2 separate regions of the Homo sapiens genome follow, and region 2 is linked to region 1. Evidence: promoter capture Hi-C in 16 types of primary human blood cells and fetal thymus (Javierre and others, 2016). All regions are on one chromosome and are shown on one strand. Each heading gives the region's core, a stretch centred on a gene start or on the middle of the fragment in contact. The rest is flanking DNA. Distances are from core to core; before and after follow the strand shown. Region 1 holds the start of ZNF829 (zinc finger protein 829). Region 2 overlaps ZFP82 (ZFP82 zinc finger protein).

Region 1 (7,221 bases), core at 3,504-6,003:
CTCTGGGTAGTGTCAGAATTCAGTTAAACTATAGGACACTCAGTTAGTGTCCCAAAAATTTTGTTTATAAAAGGACACACATTCCCAATTGATAGGAGAAATGAGGGTACTTCTCCCTCACCTTAGGACAAGCAAGGGGGCCCCTTTAGACTCCAGGGTCCAAAGTGGAATGATGAGATACTTTGGAATAATTTTTGCTGTATTCTCTGGAGCTTAGGGGGCACAAAGATTAGTACCTATTTCCCTCTTTGGACTAGATGTGGACCCAATAAAGGGACAAAGTGACCTCAACAAAGGAATGGATCACAGAATGCAGAAGTGTATGACAGATGTCATAAGTAGCCATTTCAAGAAGACATGCTGTGCATATCCCAGGAAATGCAATTAGAGGTTTCCAGCAGGGGCTTCTCTGAGAGACTCTTAATAGTGTCTCCTAACAAAGGAGTGTTGAACATCCATCAAGGCAAAAGAGATCAACACCAAAACAAGTCAAGAAAGACTTTTCTTTTCCTTACCTCCTCTTCCCTACCCCTGCTCTAATCTCATAGGATCCAGAGACTGACTTAGGCAGGAGAAATAGAAGCTCAGGGCGAGGAAATCAAGAAGCTTAATTATGTCCCTTTTCATACTTTGCAAGCTTGAAGCAATTCTCAGCTCAGAGAAGAGGCTTTAAATGAAACTCACATATTATTACAGTGAACTAGAGGTTGTAATTAGTAAAATGAGACTAGATTTTGACTGAAAACAATCAAAGGACATCAAAGAGTGATAAAAATTATAGTCTATACCAGTTCTTATCCAGGGCAACAAAAAAATTAACCCACAGAGAGGGTTGAGAGTAGAAATTATGAGGAAAAAGTTTTTCTTTTGCTTGCTTCATATGGAATCCTGCTTATTTCAAAATGCTGATCACAAGCAGATTTGGTTTTTCAGTTACACAGTCACATCATCTATAAAGCGATAATCTTATGCCCTCTTTTGTAATTTTTAACCTAATTTTTTTTCTTATGTAAGTGTTTTGGTTAATATCTATAAAACAATGTTAAATAACATTGGTAATGTGGTATATCCTTGTTTTACTTCTAATTTTCAAATATTTTGATGTTTCAAATATTTCCTGATTAAACATTAGATTAAGTTCTGAAAACAAATTTTATTTCTTTTAAAATTTATTGTCCCCCGGGCACAGTGGCTCATGCCTGTAATCCCAGCACTTTGGGAGGCCGAGATGGGCAGATCACCTGAGGTTGGGAGTTCAAGACCAGCCTGACCAGCATGGAGAAACACCGTCTCTACTAAAAATACAAAAATTAGCCGGGCGTAGTGGCGCATGCCTGTAATCCCAGCTACTCGGGAGGCTGAGGCAGGAGAATCGCTTGAACCCAGGAGGTGGAGGTTGTGGTGAGCCGAGATCATGCCATTGTGCTCCAGCCTGGGAAACAAGAGTGAAACTCTGTCCCAAAAAAAATAAAAATTTATTGTCTACTACAGTATACTACATGTCCCTAGTTATTCCCGTTAATACTGGGCAACAATCTTCTCTATAGAAATGAGAAGTGTAACTAGAGACTGATGCAAGAGGGGAAGCAGATATTCTATTTGGGCTTTGGCACAGGAGAGGGAAGACTCAGTCCTCTTTAAAAGAAATTCAGATAGAAAGGCCTTACACAAAATACTTAGTTAGACTTATTCTTATCCTGATTTTCTCTGCATCTGTACCAAACACATACAATTTAAAAATTGAGAGTAGGCCCACTCAGAGTTCCAAATTTACACCTTGAGAAAACATTGTCACTATTCTGAGTCCTCTATCCTAGTATGTATCCTCTAATTTTCAGATAAAATGATTACCTGGTGAATGGATAACCTTACAATTTAGTGAGTTCCCCAAGATTAGAAGTGTTGAAACACAAACTGAATAAAGATATTTTTATTATTACTTGGAGGAAGAATCCAAAAACTCTGTAATTGCCTGCCATGCCCACTGCCCCCTCCTGAGATGAGGCAAGGTTCTTTTGTTTGCTTTGATTTCAGCTATAAGTATCAACTCTAAAAACCAAAAAGAGATAAGACACAGAAAAGAAGAAGAAATTCTAACATATGTTTAGTTAGAACCTGAGAAGGAAAGGGGGAGAGAATGATACGGGGGCTTTTTGAAGGTATAATGACTGAAGATTTTCCTGAACTAATAATAGATATCCATCCATAAATTTTAAAACTCTACAAATCCCAAGCAGACAAATAAAACACATTTATATATCTTACACTAAAATTACAGAAAGCCAAAAACAAAACAGTCAGAGGAAGACAAGGCAGATTACCATCAAGGGAGACGAGCTAATCAAGACTGTATGATACTGGCACAGGAATATAAAAAATCAGTGGAAGAGAATAAAGAGTTCATAAACATACCCATGCACATATAGACACTAGGTATATTTGAAGACCAATGAGAACACAATAGACCTTCCAATATATGGTATTGATAAACTGGGTATTAATAAGGAGGGGGGAATCTGACTCTTACCTCATAACATATACAAAAACCAGTTGCAACTATATAAAATATCTAAACATGAAAGTGAAACTTATGGCTTTAAGCATAAATATAGGAGAGTATCTGCATGACCTTGGGACAGGGAAGGATTTATTTAAAAAGATACAAAAAGCACTAACCATAAAGAAAAAATATTGATAAACTCAGCTTTTTAAAAATTAGAACTTATCATAAAATCATCTTACAGGAAATGATGAAATAGTCCAAATAGTAGGAAAACAATCAATAAAGGACTGAGATCCAGATTACATAAATAACTCATACGAATCAATAAGAGCTATTCCAAGAGAAAAATGAGTAAAGATTTGAACTGACATGTCACAAAAGATGACTAAAAACCAATAAACATATGGAATATGTTCAATTTTATTATTAATCACGGAAACCCAAATTCAAACCTGTGGGGGTGGGCGGGTATAAGTACAGATATATATTCAAATGAGGATTTAAAAGTCTGGCATGTCTGATTTGTATATCATAGTTTTTGCAAACATCAAAAATGTATTTCCCAAGACCATTTGATGACATGGGAGAATATTTCTGACACTTCTTTTTGCAAAAATGTAGAACATCAAATGGTAAATGAAATAAAATTTGGTTTTTGACAAATAATGAAAATACATTAAAATATTAACCCTAGTTATCTGAGTGGCTAAATTTTATTTTTTCTTGGTAATGCTGTGTTTTTGAGATCTCTAAATTAATCATCCTTTTATTTTTAAATCAGAATAAATATTTGAGAAGAAAATTCAGCAAGCATAAGTGGAGCAACCATCCTTTTCTGTGATGGGAAAATTATAGGGACCTATAATTAAATGACATTCCTTTAAGCAAGAATTTTCAGAAGAAAAAGAGGAAACCCCAACACACCTTGGATACTGCTTGTAGAAGTTCATCATGCATTCTTTCCTCCTCTTCTGGGTGACACCTGGAGAAAGGTAAAATTGGGAGAGGGAAGAGTAACTGTGAGACACCAGGTTTTTCTTGGTACCCAGATTAGTCAAGTAAGAGTTCTTCCCCAGCCCCATTACCCACCACACATGAGGAATGGAGATCAGAGGAGAATGGGGCATTCTGTCCAATTCCAGTGGCTCAGGGGAAAGGTTGTGTTCACTGCTGTCCAGGGTTGGAATCTGACCAGACCTCAGAGAGGTTTCCTAGAGACAGAGTTCTGGAGTCACAATCGCATAGTTGACAGGACCCCATACTCATACACAGAATGCCACATACATTTAGGGACAGTCACACTTAAGGCGACATGCACGTCTCACCTGCCCACAAGGAGCCACACACGGCAACACAGTTACAATCACATACACACCATAGGAAACACACAATTACAGCTGCACAATCGTAGGCACCCCACACTGTCGCAGAGTCACAATCACACATCACCACGGGAACACACAGCCACAACCCCCACAGTGACAGGTATCCCATATCCGCACATAAGCCGCAGTGTTATTATCTCCCAGACAATTTCACAACCTCCCCTCTTTTTTTGGGGGGGTGGGGTGGGGTGGGGACAGAGTCTTGCCCTGTCGCCAGGCTGGAGTGCAGTGGTGCGATCTCGGCTCACTGCAACCTCCGCCTCCCGGGTTCAAGTGATTCTCCTGCCTCAGCCTGCGAGTAGCTGGGATTACAGGCGCGCGCCACCATGCCTAGCTAATTTTTGTATTTTTAGTAGAGATGGGGTTTCACCATGTTGGCCAGGATGGTCTCGATCTCTTGACCTCGTGATCCTCCTGCCTCGGCCTCCCAAACACAACCTCCACCTTTCAGGCCGCTCCGCCCGCAGGGGCCCAAGGCGCCAGCTCCCCATCGGTCTTCGGTATCCTCACCTAAGCCCTTTCCAGTCATCCCGGATGGGAACTTGCAGACCTGAGCCAGTTCTCCTGGGGACCAAAATATCTCACCTCCCAGATCTAAGGGTCCCGCCAGGAGTGACGAAACGTTCGAATTCCTGCGAGAAAAGTGGCAGGCCACCAGGCCCTCTGGGAAATGTAGTCCAGAGCGGGACCCACGCCGATTCCTGTCAGCTCCTCGCCTGGGCCCACCCGAAACGGCTGCTCCCTCAACTCTCAACATCCAGCCGAGCCTCGGAGTTGCGGGTCGCCGTAGCGCTGCGCAATGGAGATGAGCCTCCCGGGGAACCCGGCCCAAGCCTCACCCTCACACAGGAAAGCAGATGTGTTCTGGCCGGAAGTTGAGTGGGGCCGCGGGGCCTGCTGGGAGGTGTTGTCCTCGGAAACGTCGCTGGCGCGGAGGGATGGTTCGGCGCTTTAGGCGTCTGTCACAGACCTATCTGCGGGTCGCCTTCACCCAGCATCTCAGAAACTGCGCGCGGGATGAACATTCGGGTGTTTCCGGCAGGTGACGCTGCCGAGTCCCCGCAGCAGGGGGCGAGCAAGGGACTCGCGGTTGACGGGACACGGATCCTCTAAGGCCCAGAGTGTCCCGAGTAGCGGCAGTGGGGAGTGCTCAGGGTACGCTAATGGTGAGTGGTTGCAGTTGATGGGACAAAAAACTGTGATGGGAGTTAGTGTGGGTGTGTGGTTGTGTGTGTGAGTGTGACGGCACGAATAATCTGATGGGGTGATTGTGATATTTGGTTGCGCGGGATTATGATGAAATGTGTGATATGTGTGTGATTATGATTAAGGCTGTAGCGAGTGTGAACGTGGCGAAGTGTGCGTGATTGTAATATGTCTAGTAGTTCTTGTCTTGAGCTGGCTTTTCTGTAGCATTTGGCACAGTTGGTAACGGCTTGAAAAACACTTATTTGTTTTCTACTGATCCTCCCTCCTTGTTGGCCACTCCTCTGTAGTCTTCTTTGCTGTCTTTTTTACCCTAGTAGCCCTTGGCCCTTTGTAATTTTCCACTATTCCTTGGCGAACTTTTCAGGTTCATTATTATCTTATGACTTGCTGCTTTTATGTATGTTAGTTAGCTATTGCCATGATAATAATTATGTCTAAAAACCACCCCTGAACTCAATGCCATACAACAGCAAGTCCTTACTCTCCTGTTCACAGGCTTGCGCATTGACTGTGTTCAGCTGATCTAGGTGGGGCTTGGCTGAGTGGATAGGCTGCGTGACGAGTTAAGATCTGCGCCGCATGTGTTCTTTCAGGGTCTCAGGCCAAAAGGACATTTGTTGCCAGGGCATGCTCTGCTCCTGATGGGTCACCAGAGCGCAAGAGAGATTGCCTCAACCAGAGCAAGTCACATGGCTAAGCCTAAAATCAATTATGCCCACAGTTGGAGAGCAAAGTTACCTCGCAAAGAGTATGAATAATAATCTATTAGAGGGTGTGAGGAATTGGACTAAAATTCCAGTCTACCACCTTAAGAAACATACCTCTTTATCCTGGTGAATGCCTTTTAGTCCGGGTTCTCTTTTGTCTGATAATATTGCTTTTCAAGTTTTATTGTATTTCTTAAGAATTTCATTTTCTAACCCCCTTGTGTCTTTATGTTTCAGATCTGTGTCTTGTAAAGAGCATATTGCTGGGCTTACATCCGTTTATCTTGTTTGACTGTTATTTTAATAGGTGAGTATAGTTCAGTGGCATTTATCATGATTGCTCATAAAAAATGTTTTATTTTCTATTACGCCTTAAACATTTTTGATTGACATATAATAGTTGCACATATATCTTTTTTTATTGTGCAAATTCACCTTATCCCTTTTTCTCCCCTAGGTTGGTTTCTGCTATTATCCTTTTTTAATATGCATGCTTAACAAAACTCAACCTTAAGACTTTAAAATACTTGAACTCCAAAATATCCACCAATTTCTGTGTTATTCTTGTCTCATATATTATTTTCTTCTAGTTTTTGTTGTTGTTGTTGTTTTGTTTTGTTTTTTTGAGACGGAGTCTCGCTCTGTCACCCAGGCTGGAGTGCAGTGGCACGGTCTCGGCTCACTGCAAACTCCGCCTCCCGAGTTCAAGCGATTCTCCTGCCTCAGCCTCCCGAGTAGCTGGGACTACAGACGCGCCACCACGCCCGGCTGATTTTTTGTATTTTTAGCAGAGACAGGGTTTCACCATGTTAGCCACCATGGTAGATCTCCTGACCTCGTGATTTGCCGACCTCAGCCTCCCAAAGTGCTGGGATTACAGGCGTAAGCCACCATGCCCAGCCTATTCTCTTCTAGTTTTAAATCCCCAAATTAGTAGTAGTAGCTCATTTATTCTATATACAGTTCGTATCCAGGAGGGGTTGGTTTCAAGACCCCCCATGGATACCAGAATCCACAGATGCTCAAGTCCCTACATCCTTCTTTATACATTAAATCATCTCTAGATTATTTGTAATACCTAATATAATGTAAATGCTGTGTAAATCATTGTTACACGTTATTGTTTAGGGAATAATGAGAAAAAAATCTGTACTGTACGTGTTCAGTACAGACACAACTGTAGTAGGCCTAACTGTATTTTTTATCTGAGGCTGATTGAATCTGAGGATGCAGAACCTGTGGATAAGGAGGACCAACTATGTATACACACATGTATATTTAATTGTGGTAAAATACACAACATAGAATTTACCATCTAAACCATATATAAGTGTACAGTTCAGTGGCATGAAGTACATTCACATTGTTATGGTACCGTCACCACCATCCAGCCAGAGAACTCTTCTTCTTGCAAAAC
Region 2 (7,361 bases), core at 3,747-6,246, 520 kb before region 1:
ATGTATATAGTAATACTGAAACATTGAAATATATGTATATAGTAATATGTAACTTAAATTTTTAAAAAAACCTCATTATGTAGCTATTTCACTTTTTCCATACATAAAGCTGTGAGTCATGTTTTTCCCTCAATAACTGCCAATTCTATATTAATGTTCTTTTCAAAGAGAATATCCTTAGTCTGTTATTTTATTAACTATTCCATTAATTTATTTGATCATATAAACTACTTGCTGTTATTCACCTTAGTTTTTAAAAATTTCTAGCTTAAGTTAATCCTTATTTTTTCCCATAAATTGCCTGTTATGTGACAGGCACTGTAGGTGTGTGAACAGAATGGTGAACAACACAAATACTTATTTCTCAATCCAGATGTTCTAAATGCATTGCTTTAAATTTTCTACCAAGTAGAGCTTTGGTTGGTGATTTCCCCCAAGTTATCTGTAGGCAACATGTGATCATTCATCACTAAATAGTCTACAATTTCAGACTTGATTTTCTTTCTTTTTTTTTTTTTTTGAGATGGAGTCTCACTCTATTGCCAGGCTGGAGTGCAGTGGTGTGATCTCAGCTCACTGCAACCTCCGCCTCCTGGGTTCAAGCGATTTTCCTGCCTCAGCCTCCCGAGTAGCTGGGACTACAGGCGTGCCACCATGTCCAGCTAATTTTTGTATTTTTAGTAGAGACAGAGTTTCACCATGTTGGCCAGGATGGTCTTGATCTCCTGGCCTCAAATGATCCACCCACCTTGGCCTCCCAAAGTACTGCGATTACAGGCATGAGCCACCACGCCTGGCCCAAACTTGATTTTCTACTTTAAAAAACTTTATTATGGAAAATTTAAAATATATGTAAAGATAGTAAGAACGGCACAATGAACCCTGTGTACCTAATGATCCAGATTAAACATTTACCAACATTTTGCTAATCTTGTTTCATCTATCCCTCCCACCTTTTGTTTTTAAGTATTTAAAAGTAAATCACAGGCATAACATTTCAGCCTTAAATACCTCAGTATGAATCTCTAACACTTAAGGACTCATACACATATACCCATAATGCCATAGTCATGCCTAACATATGAACAATAAATTATTTCGTATCATTTAGTAACCAATCCATGTTTACATTTGTACAATATGTAGAGACATTTTATTCCTTCAAATCTTGTATTGACTATGTTTTCTTTATTTTCTGTATTCCTGATGCTCTGGCCACTTGGGGCCTTGATCCTGGATAGGCTGCCCCTCCCAGGGCAAGCTAATGCATAGATGATAAACTCCACTGCAAGCATGCCTTTCATATACAAACCAACCAATCCAGAGCCCATACTCCCAACTATCTCCTTTACCAAACTCTCATACACCAATTCAATATTCCCCTGCCCTAACTAGACAATTACGAATCCCCCCTAGATCCCAGAGACCAACAAAATTACTCAAACTATTCAATCCTAAGCTTACCAGTGTGCCTACCCCTGCCTTGTCCATTCCTTCCCATGAAAACCCCCAATAAAAGCTCTGGGCCATGCTGTGCTCTCACCCTCTGCCTCCTGATACACCCAGGTGCTTCTTTACGTGACCCTGCATGCCATGCCATGCCTCCCGTTTGTGGGATCTGCGTATAAACTTCTTCCTTCATGACAATAATTTCCATGTCTGCCTGTCTCACCATGATTGATTAAAACAAATCCCAAGCGCATTTTAACACAAGGATCCTAAAATGCTCCATACACTGTATTTGAAGGATACGTTTCTTAGTCTCCTTTAAAGTGTAGGATTCCATTTTTGTCTTTTTTTTTTTTTTTTTTGACATGTATTGGTTAAAAAACTAGGCCATTACTTCTGCAGAATTTCCCAAATTGTGCATTTGGTTGTTTGCTTCTTTGTGTTGTTAATTTGTTCTTTTATTCCCCATGTTTCCTGTAAACTGGTAATTAGGTTTGGAGACTAACTTGTACTTCTCAGTTTTGGGGGAGCCAAGAAAACTTCACAGGTGTCCACTGTGTGTATCCATTTCATCACATCAAGTTCATCTGGCTGATCTCATTTAGAGATGTTAATATAGATTAGTGTCCTGTCATTCTGCTCCATGCATTATAAGCTTCCTATCCATTTTTCACCTAATGGTCTTCGCATCCATTGCTATCACCACGAAAATCCATGATTTTGTAAAATTAAAGAGCGTAGTTTTCAAATTCTATCATTCATTTGATCTTTGTTTTGTTTTGTTTTTTGTTTTTTGTTTGAGACAGAGTCTCGGTCTGTCACCCAGGCTGGAGTGCAGTGGCGCGATCTCGGCTCACTGCAAGCTCCGCCTCCCGGGTTCAAGCCATTCTCCTGCCTCAGCCTCCTGAGTAGCTGGGACTACAGGCGCCTGCCACCACGCCCGGCGAATTTTTTGTATTTTTAGTAGAGATGGGGTTTCACCGTGTTAGCCAGGATGGTCTTGATCTCCTGACCTCACGATCCACCTGCCTCGGCCTCCCAAAGTGCTGGGATTACAGGCTTGAGCCACCGCGCCTGGCCTCCTTTGACCTTTTAACCAGTTGGAATTCTCTAATCAACAACTTTCCTTCACCAACTTTTGGTTGTCTTGAAATATAGTTTGTAAAGGATAGGCAAGGTAAATATTCCATTCTTTTCCTTTATTTGTTAATAATGCTCTAGTATGCTCCATAACTAATCAATGCATTTGGTTCAGGAAAAAAAAAAGCTCAAAGGTTGGAGTGGTCATGATAAAAGGACACAGGAGCCAATTTGAGGGGATTGCCTCAAAATGCTAAATTGACAATTTAGCATTTTTAAAAAACAATGAAGTAGTTTAAAAAATTAATGGGGCTTCATAATACAGGTGACTTTTAATTTCCAAAGTTTCATGTTATCCTTTGTCAATTTTTAATATTGACTGGGGCCAGAGAATACTGATTGTAGTTTTTTTTTTTTTTTGAGACAGGGTCTTGCAGTCACTCAAGCTGGAGTGCAGTGGTACAATCACAGCTCACTGAAGCCTCAACTCTTGGGTTCAAATGATCCTCCCACCTCAGCCTCGAGTAGCTAGGACTACAGGCATGCACCATTATGCCCAGCTAATTTTTAAAGTTTTTTGGTAGAGACAGGGTCTCACCATGTTGCCCAGGCTGGTCTCGAACTTCTGGCCTCAAGCAATCGTCCTTACTTGGCCTCCCAAAGTGCTGGATTTACAGGCATGGGCCACCTCACCTGGTCTAGGGTATCTGTTTTTTAATGAACAAACTGGAAAGGAATTCCTTACTTTCAATATTTTAACGAGAATAAGATATCTCAAGTTCAATGAAGATTAAATGTTGGTGGAAGGCATTTCTATACTCATTATGCCCACAGCCTTTAGTATGAATTATGTAAAAATAAATATTTAGTATGATAATAAAAGAAAGTTTAGTGGCTTAAAACAACAACCATTTTATTATATCTCATGTTTTTGTGGGTCAGAAATTTGGGCCAGGGGCTCAGCTGGTCAATTCTTCCATTCTACATGGCATCAGTTCAGGTTACCAAGTCGCTCACTGGCATTTAGCTGGTGGCTGGTCTGGTGGATCCAAAATTTCACTCAAATGTCTGGTATCTTGGTGGATGTCAAGAAGACAGGGTTCAGCAGGTGCCTCTCCCTCTCTACGTAGTTTCAGGGCCTCTTCATGTGGTCTCTTCAGCAAAGTAGCCAGACTTTGTAACAAGACAGTTCTGTCATTTCATGAGATGAAGTAACCCTACCAGTAAAGTCTGAGTCAAGAAACCAGCACAGCAGTACGTCTACCATATTCTACTGGGCGAAGCAGTCACAGAGGGATGTAGATTCCTGTATACAACAGAGGGATGTAGATTCCACCTCTTGATTGAAAGTGTGTCAAACTGCTGCACTCTTATATGACCATGTCATAAATTAAAAAATTATAGCACAGAGCAGTTAAGCGTCTTGTCCAGTATGACACAAAGTGATGGGATAGGGATGACGGTAAATGTCTTTTTCATTCTTATAACAGGATTAGTTTTTAGAACAAATATGCTGAAGTTTCAGGTTTGAGTGATGATGGACTACAATACATTGTCACACTCTTTTAATGGTATAAAACCTCTAATGCCAACGCAGTTGCATGTATGGAGCAAAATAGATTAATTACTACATTCATAGAATGTTCTATAACACAGAAGTTGAAAAGACTTTCTTAGATTTTTACATTATGAATTTTCAGATGATGAGTAAGGTGTGAATGTTGCCTAAAGGCCTTCTTACATTCCTTACATTCATAGGGTTTCTCACCAGAATGAATTCTCAGATGTTGAATAAGGGATGAATTAAGTCTAAAGGCCTTCCTACATTCCTTACACTCAAAGGGTTTTTCGCCAGTATGAATGCTCTGATGTAGAGTAAGTTTTTGGCGCAATCTAAAGGCCTTGCCACATTCCTTACATTTATAAGGTTTCTCACCAATATGAATACTCTGATGCTGTGTGAGTTGTGAAAGTAGTCTGAAGGCCTTCCCGCATTCCTTACAGTCATAGGGCTTAACACCAATATGAATACTCTGATGTGAAATAAGTTGTGAGTAGCGACTAAAGGCTTTCCAGCATTCCTTACATTCGTAAGGTTTTTCACCAGTATGAATTCTGTGATGGAGAATAAGATGATAACCACGGCTAAAGGTCTTTCCACATTCCTTACATTCATAGGGTTTCTCACCAGTATGAATTCTCTGATGGAGTGTTAGTTGTTGTCGCACTCTAAAGGCCTTCCCGCATTCCTTACATTCATAGGGTTTCTCACCAGTATGAAGTTTGTGATGTACTCTAAGACCAGAGCCACACAAAAAGGCCTTCCCACATTCTTTGCATTCATAGAGCCTGTCAGCACTATTAAGCTTCTGATGCCGAGTCAGGTGTGCGTACTGTCTAAAGGCTTTTCCACACTCTTTACACACATAGGGTTTCTCACCAGTATGAATCCTCTGATGCAGAGTAAGTTGTCCTCGTACCCTAAAAGCCTTCCCACATTCTTTACATTCATAGGGCTTCTCACCAATATGCATTTTCTGATGTACTCTAAGATCTGCACCACATATGAAAGCTTCCCCACATTCCTTACATTCATAGAGTTTTTCACCAGAATGAAGTCTCTGATGTCGAGTAAGGTGTGCAGTCTGTCTGAAGGCCATCCCACATTCCTTACATTCATACGGTTTTTCACCAGTATGAATTCTGTGATGAAAAGTAAGCTGTTGGCGCACTCTGAACGCCTTCCCACATTCCTTACATTCATAGGGTTTATCAACAAAATGAAGTCTCTGATGTGGAGTAACAGATGTGCGTTTCTGGTAAGAGGACACCTTTTCAGATGGCATTTTCACACTACTGAAGTATCCTTCTTGAGGTCTCTCCTGTCCTTCAATTTTTCCTGTGGATTCCCAATCATTTTTTAAAATGAGACCCTTAAGGCCATGGTTTTCAATTCTTTCCATTATCTTCCACTGGGATAAATTTATTTCATAAATGTCATTTTCTAAAGATAACTTCTTGGTCTCATACTTGGTCTCCAAATCTAAAATAAAACAAGAAAGCAAACACATGCTGTTTTCTTTTACTAAAAGAAGCAACATTTCTAATGTAGAAATAAAAGACAACAAAAGTAATCCTTAACCAAAACTCTAAAATATTGTTATACAATTTGGAAAGAAAAAAAAAGCCAAAGGGAACATCAGGAAAAATGAGAGTTCATACAAAATAGCAAGATTGGTGATGAAGTAAACATTTTAAGTCAGTGGTTCTCATATTGAGGTGTGGATCAGAATCACCACATAGCTTGTTACTAACACTGAGGTTTAGACACCACCCAAACCACCTGGATCAGACTCTGCAGTCCTGGAAGGATATTTAATATTCTCTACATGATAATTCTGATGAAGATGAGAGGTCGAGAATCTATACTTAAATTTTTTTCATCTTTCTTCATTCTCAGAATCCAGTCAAGCTCACTGTGGTTAAGAAGGCCTCTGCTTACCTACATCATATGATCTCAAACCAGTGTCCCCTTTACTGCTCCCTGGAGAGGCCTCCTTGCAGACCTCACATGTCCTAACTTACTTCCATCTCTTAGGACTCTTCACAGTCTGTTCTATCTCCCACAAATCTCCTGATTGGGCTCTTTGCATGGCTGGCTCCTTTCATCTTGAGATCTTAGATTAAAAGTCATTTCCTTTAAGGTTGACCCTATTGATAGTACCTAAATCCATGTTGCTATTCTCTATTCCTTGCCTTTATAATAGCTCTCAATTTAAAAATTATATATTTATTAACTTCTCCAATTGTTATACTGCCTATTCTTACCTATAAACCTCCTCAAGGACAGAAACAATCCCTAGTTAACGCTACATTAAGTAATAAATGCTAAGCATATAATAGGTTTTACTCATTTAATTCCCATAGCTACATACTTGTTCTAAATGTATCTCTCTGCCTCTAGTCTCTCATGCCTTACTACAGTGATTAAATATTCTCTTTATTCATCCAGGGCAGCCCAGCTAAATACAAGAATGGAAATAGGTGGCTGTATATTCCTATGCATCTGCCACTGCTTATGCCTTTACCTATGCAGTGCACTGCCCATTTGCCCCTTCACATAGCTATGGGTAACTTTTTCTTTGTCTCTACACCATAGCAAAGGTATTGAGGAGTTCTACCTACTCAATCTTCCCTTCAACTTATTCTATTACTCATTCATTTGACAAATGTTCAACTGGTTTTGTTCTTTCCTCCCATTGCTCAGGTTTTCTCCTTTCCATTCCCTCATAGTCAAGGCCATTCCTGTTTTTTTAGGAAATGTGTATCAGTGATTTTTCGGACAGGAAAACACGTCTATATCTTACTGAAGTTCTTATGAAATTCATGGCACAAAAAGACAGGATATGCCTGTAACTCAGAAATGTGGAAAAAAGTAATGTGCATGTTCAACTGTTGCAGTCATCTGAATGTGAAGGACTTGCTAACAGAAGTCACGTTACATGTAGGCCAGAGGATGGCAAGCCAGCAACAGGAACAGCCAGAGGAAAATCTACAAGCTGAATGAGTTGTGTATGAGAGAGAAACAGGATGAGGTTTTCAATTATGATAAGGTGGTCTCTATTAAAAAGCTGAAATCTAGACACAAAACTAGGAGTTAGCAAAAAAAAAAGGTTGAAATTATATAGACATTTTCTACTAAAACTGGAAATTAATAATAAAATTAAAAGAAACACAAGTAAAATCTACCTGAAAATTCAAAAGTCTATATTAAATAACTCTTAGGTCAATAGGAAAATAAGATCTGAAACAATGTTTTTGATTTTTGCTTG

What was found. Contacts are between HindIII fragments. The CHiCAGO score rates a contact against its expected background, and 5 or more counts as called.
Region 2: a fragment that was not itself captured here is called in contact with the fragment with the promoter of ZNF829 in region 1 in 1 of 17 cell types (total CD8 T cells); the score reaches 6.2 in total CD8 T cells.

Annotation. Positions count from the first base shown.
Region 1 is chr19:36,911,538-36,918,758 of GRCh38, forward strand. It overlaps ZNF829 (zinc finger protein 829), which reads right to left and starts at 4,754. Exons shown (of 6, transcript NM_001037232.4): 1 at 4,474-4,754; 2 at 3,593-3,714; 3 at 3,428-3,485. The coding sequence starts at 3,630. It overlaps ZNF568 (zinc finger protein 568), which reads left to right and starts at 4,795. Exons shown (of 7, transcript NM_198539.4): 1 at 4,795-5,054; 2 at 6,042-6,111. RefSeq lists enhancers at 4,390-4,439, 4,500-4,879. The HindIII fragment of the contact is 8,467 bases long and covers 636-7,221 here.
Region 2 is chr19:36,388,539-36,395,899 of GRCh38, forward strand. It overlaps ZFP82 (ZFP82 zinc finger protein), which reads right to left. Exons shown (of 5, transcript NM_133466.4): 5 at 92-5,572. The coding sequence ends at 4,203. Among named protein-coding and RNA genes, the nearest start is that of ZFP14, 13 kb to the left of the region's middle. The HindIII fragment of the contact is 206 bases long and covers 4,894-5,099 here.